Regions from separate parts of the Homo sapiens genome. Here all the other regions are linked to region 1. Evidence: promoter capture Hi-C in 16 types of primary human blood cells and fetal thymus (Javierre and others, 2016). All regions are on one chromosome and are shown on one strand. Each heading gives the region's core, a stretch centred on a gene start or on the middle of the fragment in contact. The rest is flanking DNA. Distances are from core to core; before and after follow the strand shown.

Evidence for each region. Contacts are between HindIII fragments. The CHiCAGO score rates a contact against its expected background, and 5 or more counts as called.
Region 2: a contact is called between a fragment that was not itself captured here and the fragment with the promoter of EPHB2 in region 1, in 1 of 17 cell types (endothelial precursors). The highest score is 6.0, in endothelial precursors.
Region 3: a contact is called between a fragment that was not itself captured here and the fragment with the promoter of EPHB2 in region 1, in 4 of 17 cell types (M1 macrophages, M0 macrophages, endothelial precursors and 1 more). The highest score is 7.2, in M1 macrophages.

Annotation. Positions count from the first base shown.
Region 1 is chr1:22,709,563-22,712,165 of GRCh38, reverse strand. EPHB2 (EPH receptor B2) reads right to left here and starts at 1,327. Exons shown (of 16, transcript NM_017449.5): 1 at 1,123-1,327. The coding sequence starts at 1,183. RefSeq lists an enhancer at 34-133 and a silencer at 2,355-2,603. The HindIII fragment of the contact is 2,980 bases long and covers 49-2,603 here.
Region 2 is chr1:22,922,544-22,925,146 of GRCh38, reverse strand. No RefSeq gene overlaps it. Among named protein-coding and RNA genes, the nearest start is that of LACTBL1, 49 kb to the left of the region's middle. RefSeq lists an enhancer at 1-407. The HindIII fragment of the contact is 9,052 bases long and covers 1-2,603 here.
Region 3 is chr1:22,843,087-22,845,689 of GRCh38, reverse strand. The region is part of intron 3 of EPHB2 (EPH receptor B2); the gene reads right to left. Among named protein-coding and RNA genes, the nearest start is that of MIR4253, 19 kb to the left of the region's middle. The HindIII fragment of the contact is 6,267 bases long and covers 1-2,603 here.

The DNA.
Region 1 (2,603 bases), core at 78-2,577:
TTTGAGGGATCCAACACGCTGGTGGGCGGGAAAGCACTTTGTAAAGCTTAAAGTACCTTGTCAACTGTGCAGCACGTTGTAAACCACAGAGAGCTGCGTATAGTGCGAAGTACTTCATAAACTGTAAAGTGGTTTGAAAACTGTAAAGTGCAGTACACGTGAGAACCATTATTCACGTTCGCTTCTTGCCCTGCAAGCTCGGCCATTCCTGGTGGACACACCCAGACCGCACTAACTTTCCCTCCAGAGCAAGCTGGCTCGGGAGACCTAGCAACTACCCTTGCCCCCCTGGGGGTCGAGTGGTACCAATACACGAGGCCACGGGGAGAGGGCCCGCGACCCTGGCCAAGGCCAACACATGGCAAGAGCATCTGGTCCGGCCCCGGCGGCAGCTGGAGAGTTCCCGGGGCTCCAGCCGCCACGCTGAGCGCCGCGGCCGCGGGGCGGTGGCCGGCGGGGGTGCCCGGAGACCTTGCGCGGCGGAGAGATGCCCACAGACCCATCCCCCGCGCAGTCCTCTCGGGGAGGGGACCCCATTGTACGCCGCGGGCGATGGGCAGGCACCGACGCGGGGGCTGGCGCGCTCCCTTCCACTCTGCCAGTCCCTGCTCTCCGGGGCGCCGGGCCCCATCTCGGGGGCGCGGGCCGGGAGCCCCCACCCCGGCCGGCCGCGGTGCCTCCCTCCCTCTGCTCCCTGCCAAACTTTCCAGCCCCGACCGAGCGCCGGCGCCCCCCCCGCCCCCCGCCACGGCCGGGCCCGCGCCCCTCCACCCTGTGCGGAGCAAGACCAGGCCGGCGCGAGGCGGCTGCCCGAGCCGGGGGCGGCGAGCGCGCGTGGGCAGCCCCCAGCCCTGGGCGGCGCTCGCCGGGCTGGCTACAAAGCCTCGGCAAGATGGTCCCTTCGCCTCCTCCTGGCACAGTCAATCAGCGCCCGCCGCTCCCCGGGCGCCCGCGGGGCCCGCTCCTCCCGGCGCGGCCGGACACACCTCCCCGCGGCCACCTGCGCCCGGCGCCGGCCCCCGGGCAAACTTTGCGGGCCGCGGAGCGGAGGTGGGCGCCGGCGGCCGCCCGTGCCCGGCCGCTCCCCGCCCCCATCGCCCGCCCGCCCGCCCGCTCGCTCACCTTCCACGGCGGCGAGCAGCGGCAGCAGCAGCAGCGCGGCCCCCAGCCTCCGCAGAGCCATGGCTGCGCTTCCCGGGGCCTCGGGCCGCGGCGCCGCGGGGCCCGGACGGCCCGGGCGGGAGCGCGCGCCCCGGGCTCGGGGGGCCAGGGGGGGCGGCAAGGCGCGGCGCACACACAGCCGCCGCCACCGCGCAGCCAGCAGAATGAGCCATCCAGCCCGGGCAGAACGGGGACCCGGGCTCCGCCAGCGCTGGGCACGGCCCACCTGAGCCGCGGGCGCGGGGGGAGCCTCGCCAGGCCACCGCCCCCCGCGCGCGTCCCGGCCCCCGGCGGCCGCGCGCCGCCGCGAGCCCGGGTCCCCACACCGCGCCCGTAGGGTCACCCGGGGGCAGCGCGGGCGCTGGAGCGCGGCGACCCCGCGTGCCCGGGCCACTGAGACCCCGGGCTCCCCCCGCGCAGCAGTGGTCTCTCCCGGCGCTGTGGCTCCTCCAGATAAAGCAGCGATTTCAGCCCAAATGTTTCTCAATTTTTATTGAATGCTGCAAAGCCGGAGAGCGTCTGGCGCGGCTGACAGGGGCAGGGAGAGCGGACGGAGGGGAGGGCGGGGGAAGGGGCTTCCCAAAGCGGGGGCCGGCACTACCTGTCAGGGCAGGGAGTCCCACCCCCTCGCCTCAGCCCTGCCACCCGGGTCCCTGCGGCTTCGAAAGGGACCGAACTGCAATGAATGGAAAAAAAAAAAAAAGGGTGTGTGTGGGGGGGTGGCATCTGGGAACAAAACAGGCGGCTTTCCCAGGCACCGGGGCTGGGCCGGGGCCTCCGAGTGGGAGACTGGGCCTTGGCGCTACCCGAGGGCCTGGGGTGGGGCTGGGGGGAGGGTGGTCACTCGGCACTGGTGGGCTGGGCCCTTGCAGGCAGACCCCAGGCCTCCCCTCCCTGCCCCGTTGTTCTGAGCTGGCCCGCGAGCCCCTCACTGCAGACTCGTCTATGTCTGTATTAGATTTCTCCTTCTCTGTTGATCTTGCTCCCAGTGCAGTTTGGGGATGGGGTGAAGGAAGTCCATGGGTGAATCTGGGGAAAGCCCCAGCCACCCCCACGCTGTGGAATGGACCTGTCTGTGCAGCCGTGGTTTTGTGCATGGCCGTCCCTTCAGGGAGAACACAACCCTAGCCCCAACCCTGTGGGCCCTGCCCTGCTCTGACAGCCTTCATCACCATCATCATTAACAGACTTTACTGAAGTCTGGATGGTGGGCGGCTGCAGGGGGCCTGCGGCAATCACCCAGGCTGAACCCCTGGCAGTTGGGAGCCCACTCCTGACTGAGGAGACTTCATCAGGAGCTCGGAACTCTGTGGAGTGAGTGGAGGAGCCCAGTGCAGGAGCAGGTGGTTTAAGTCGAAGGCAGTTTAAGTCTATGCTACCCACATCTCCTGTGTCCCTTTGTCCCACATACTATCAAAATGTCCCAGCAATCCCTCCCCTTC
Region 2 (2,603 bases), core at 36-2,535, 210 kb before region 1:
ACTCCAGCACGGTTTCTGCTGCCTGGGGACTCACCATCACCAGGGACAGTGCTGTAGCAATAGAGTCTTTTTTTTTTTTTTTTTTTTTTTTTTTTTTTTTTGAGATGGAGTGTCTCTCTGTTGCCCAGGCTGGAGTGCAGTGGTGTGATCTCGGCTCACTGCAACCTCTGCCTCCCGGGTTCAAGCGATTCTCCTGCCTCAGCCTCTCAAGTAGCTGGGATTACAGGCGCCCACCACCACACCTGGCTAATTTTTGTATTTTTAGTAGAGACAGCGTTTTACCATGTTGGCCACGCAGGTCTCAAACTCCTGACCTCAAGATATCCACCCGCCTCAACCTCCCAAAGCGCTGGGATTACAGGCGTGAGCCACCGTGCCTGGCTTGTAGCAATAGAGTCTTGGTTTTACCTTTGTGCCATCCACAGGGGCAGCAAGGAAGGAGGTGCTCGCAGCAAGTGTGATTGGTAGAGGGTAGGGGGTGCTGGTGGCTCCAGGGTCCCCTGCACTGTGTCATCAGGGTTTCTGGGGCAGGGCTGATCCAGGCAGACACTTTGATCTGATGGGTTTGGTGGAGGAGTGGAGGGGGGCGGGGCGGTGGGGAGGGGCAGAGCATTTCTATAGTCCCATGGGGGTGGGGGTGGGGTCTCCATAGCCATGACTCCAAACCCAGTGAGACACTATGGGAAACAGCCCCTCCCTTGTTTCTCTTTTTCTCCTTGATGACATTTTGTTGTGGCAGCCATGATGCCCCTGTGTCTGAGAAATGACTGAACTTGTGGATGCCCATTTGGAGCCTGGAGGGGCAAAGATTGGTCTCAGCTGTCCCAGGGGTGAGAGAGAAGGGTGAGAAGAAGGTTGAGAGGAGCCAATAAGGGTTAGATGAGAGAGCTGGGAGTTGGGGACCTGGGTCAGGGTCCCTGAGCAGGGAGTAGACCCCTGTGAGATTGTACTGGATCTCAGAATGGGAAGGAGAGTCTAAGGAAAGCCCAGTTTGGTCCAGGAACTGGGGCAGGTGGAAATAGAAAGGGGATCCAGGCTTCTCAGAGGAACCAGGCTGGGAGACAGAAGTCATCTTGGGTGATGGGTCAGAGGCCCCAGGACACCTAAGGAAGGCCTGGAATTTGCAAGCTGAGCCACCCGTGCTGTGTGCCTGTGTGTGGTGCCTGAACCAGCTGACCTCACCATGAGCTGTCACAGACTGTCCTCCTTAAGGGATCTGGTGGCATTGCCAGCCTGCTTTATGAACAGCCATAAGGGGTCATATATTACGTTTGATCTAGCAATCACTTCTGTGCCAGTGTTACTTACATAGTGTCTTAGTCTGTTTCTGCTGCTATGACAAAATACCCAAGACCGGGTAACTTGTAAACAGCAGAAATTGATTTCTCACAGTTCTGGAGGCTGGGAAGTCCAAGATCAAGGCACCAACAGGCTCAGTGTCTGATGAGGGCCTGCTCCTTATAGACGGTGCCTTCTCTGTGTCTTCACTTGGTGGAAGGGATGGAAGGGCCAAAGGGGACAAACTCTGTGTCCTCATGTGGCAGAAGAGCAGAACAAGCAAGCTGACCAAGATGTGAAGCCTCTTTTCAGAGGGCCTCAATCCCCTTCACCAGGGCTCTGCCCTCATGGTTCAATCACCTCCTAAAGGTCCCCACTAAATACTATTGCATTTGTGATTATGTCTCAACACAGGAATTTTTGCGGACATTCAGACCATAGCACGTAGAAATTCACAAAAGATATTACGTCAGTGTTTGACTTCATACCTTTGCATCTGCCATTCCCTCGACCTGGAATACTCATCTCCATCCTCTCTCAGCTTCCTGGAGAGCTCCCAGTCATGCTCTGGAACCCTGCTCAGCTCCTCAAAGGGGTGTCCTTCAGGGTTAGTTGCTCCCTTCCCGGAAGCTGTCGACACCTTGAATGCCATGCACATCACCTGCGTTGTAGTGACCCATGTACCTGCTGGTCTCTTCCACTGACTGAGCACTTCCACGAGGGCAGGCATGGGTCTCATTCACTGCAGCGCTCCCAGCACCAGCCTAGTGCTTGGCTTTCCATGGGTGCCTGATTCATGGGCAGTGAAGTGGCCCAAATGCCCTGATAAGCTCTTGGGGGCAGGAGTCATTTGTTTCCCCCACGGCATCTAATGCAGTACTTTTGTGCAGTAGGAATTCAGTAAGTACTTCTTGAATGAATGAATGAATGAATGAGTGAGTTATGATTCACTCATAGCTCACAATTCTGCAAGGCTGTACAGGAAGCATGGTTCTGGCATCTGCTTGGCCCCTGGGAAGGCCTCAGGAAACTTACAATTATGGTGAATCAGAGGACAGCCTCCTGGTTCCCATCCCTTTCTGGGCTCTATGCCATGGTGTTTTCCAGGCCTAACTTTAACCCCTAGCTCCAGATCAACCTGCAACTCCCAGAGCATTACCCAAGTGTGTTCCCAGGGACACTGGTCCCATGAGATGCTCTCCCAGAGGGAAAGCCTGCAAATGGTAACACCTTCTTAGAGATTCACATTGCACTTTTACCATATTTAAGACTCTGCAATATCCTGGGACAAAGAAATCTGATTAACTTGCCTTACCCCAGAATTT
Region 3 (2,603 bases), core at 38-2,537, 130 kb before region 1:
AGCAGAGGAAAATGACAAACCTCTAATCTTACAGACCATTCTTATCTCAGCCCTTATAAAAATGAGGAGTCCTGGTTGTTTCTAAAAATGGCTCTGAAAGTTCATAAACTTGACAAGCACTTAGCTCTAGCACCCACAGACAAGGACTAATCCTCGAGAAAACTGGAGATGAGGAGTCGGGAGGCAACTTGTGGTGAAGGGCAGCCTGCAAAGATAGCCCACACTGTCACCAAGTGAGGGCTTGAGACCACAACTTCCTAGCTTATTTTCTCTGACCTCATGGGAACTCTGCTTAGAAGGGTCTCTTTAGTTCCAAAAGCGGCCAGAACTAATGTTTTAACATTTATCTTCTATTAAATGACGGTTCACACTTAGTGCTTACCGTGGGGCAGATGCTGTTTTAAGTGCGTTATATGGATTAATCATGTAATCTCAAATTATACTATAATTATCCCCACTTACAAGGGATACAGGCACAGAGAGGTAAGTCGCTTGTCCAATGTCACTGATGCAGTGAGTGGTAGAGGAGGGATCTAAATTGAGCTGGACACCATGTGCTTTCAGCCACTGCTCGCTCACCACTCAGGAGGTGGGACTCCACGCTGGATGGAGCCTAACTCATCATCGTCACCTCCTCTGCTCTCATCGCAACATCCTGATGAACTCCTGGCCCTGTTTTATAGCTGAGGAAACTGAGGCTCTGAGCATTCAAGTGGCCTGGCCAGGAGCACACAAATCCGGGTGTGGGCAGAGCCAGGGTCTACTCCTGCTGCCTGGTTCCAGGGCCCGAGTACCTTGCAGGGTATGGAGCTGCCAAAGGCCTTCAGCTGCAGGCAGGACCTAATGCCCTCTTGATCTGACCAAGGACCCCAAAGGACTGGGATCAGTCAAGGTCCCAAGGATGCTGGCCCCAGGCTATAGGCTTCCTTCTTGGGGGCTTCCTGGGGGATCCGGTGCCTGGCCCAGCTTCGTCTCCTCAGAGAAACAGTGCTGTGCTGTGGTTAGCAGTGTGTGCTCTGGAGCCGGCATCACCACTTCCTAGCTGAGTGACCTTGGGTAAATAATATAACTTTTCTGTGCCTCAGTTTTTCCACCTGCAAAATGGGGATAATAACACTCTCCCTCCTAAGGTTGTTGAGAAGACAGCTAATACTCATGAAGCACTTAGACCCTGCTGTCAAACTGGACAGGCTCCTGCCTACCCCTAAGACCCCTCTCACTATAGACAGCTGCCTGGCTGGGCCAGCCTCTCAGCTGCCTGGGTCTCCTGCCAGCCCCTGCCCCTGCAGAGACAGCAGCAGCACTCTGGGTTCCAATCCCAGCCCTGCTCTTCCTGGCTGAGGCTTTTGGGCACATGAGCATATACCTCTCTGAGTCTCTGTCTTCTTATGTGTTAAACAAGGGCAATAAGCCTGTTTTAATAACAGTGTGGCAATGTACGTTAGCTCAGCCATTGTGGAAAGCAGTGTGGAAATTTCTCAAAGAGCTTAAAACAGATGTACCATTTGACCCAACAATCCGAATATTAGGTAGATGCTCAAAGGAATATAAATTGTTCTACCACAGAGACACATGCACATGTATGTTCACTGCAGCATTATTCACAACAGCAAAGCCATGGGATCAACCTAAATGTCCATGAACAGTAGAATGAATAAAGAAAAGGTGGTACATATACACCATGGAATACTACACAGCCATAAAAAAGCCTTTGCAACAGCGTGGATGGAGCTGGAGGCCATTATCCTAAGTGAACTAACATAGGAACACAAAACCAAATACCACATGTTCTCACTTATAAGCGGAAGCTAAACATTGAATACACATGGACACAAAGAAGGGAACAAGAGGCTGGGTACGGTGGCCCACGCCTGTAATCCCAGCACTTTGGGAAACTGAGGTGGGCAGATCACTTGAGGTCAGGAGTTCGAGAGCAGCCTGGCCAACATGGTAAAACCCTGTCTCTATTAAAAATACAAAAATTAGCCAGGCATAGCGGCAGGTGGCTGTAATCCCAGCTACTCGGGAGGCTGAGACAGAAGAATCACTTGAATCTGCGAGGTACAGGTTGCAGTGAGCTGAGATTGCACCACTGCACTCCAGCTTGGGCAACAGAGTGAGACTAAGTCTCCAGAAAAAAAGAAAAAGAAGAAGGGAACAAAAGACACTGGGGCCTACTTGAGGGTGGAGGGTGGGAGGAGAGAGAGGATCGAAAAACTACCTATTGGGTACTATGCTTATCACCGGGGTGATGAAATAATCTGTACACCAAATCCCCATGACATGCAATTTATCTATATGACAAATCTTCACATGTACTCCTAAAATAAAAGTTAGGAGAAAAAAAACACAGTGGCAAGAGCAAGGACTTAGAATTAGACAGACCTGGGTCTCTGCTTCTTGCTTTCTGCATGGTCTTGGGAAAGTTGCTTGAACCCCCAGAGCCTCAGTTTCCTCAGGTGTAAAATGGGGACACTCCCTTGCAAGGTTTTATACTGTGAGGACAAAATGAGGTTACAGTTGGATGGTGCCATGTACTTGCAGGGGCTCAGTAAGTGGCCATTAGTATTACCTATTTCTCCTTGCAGGGATCCTTCACTCAA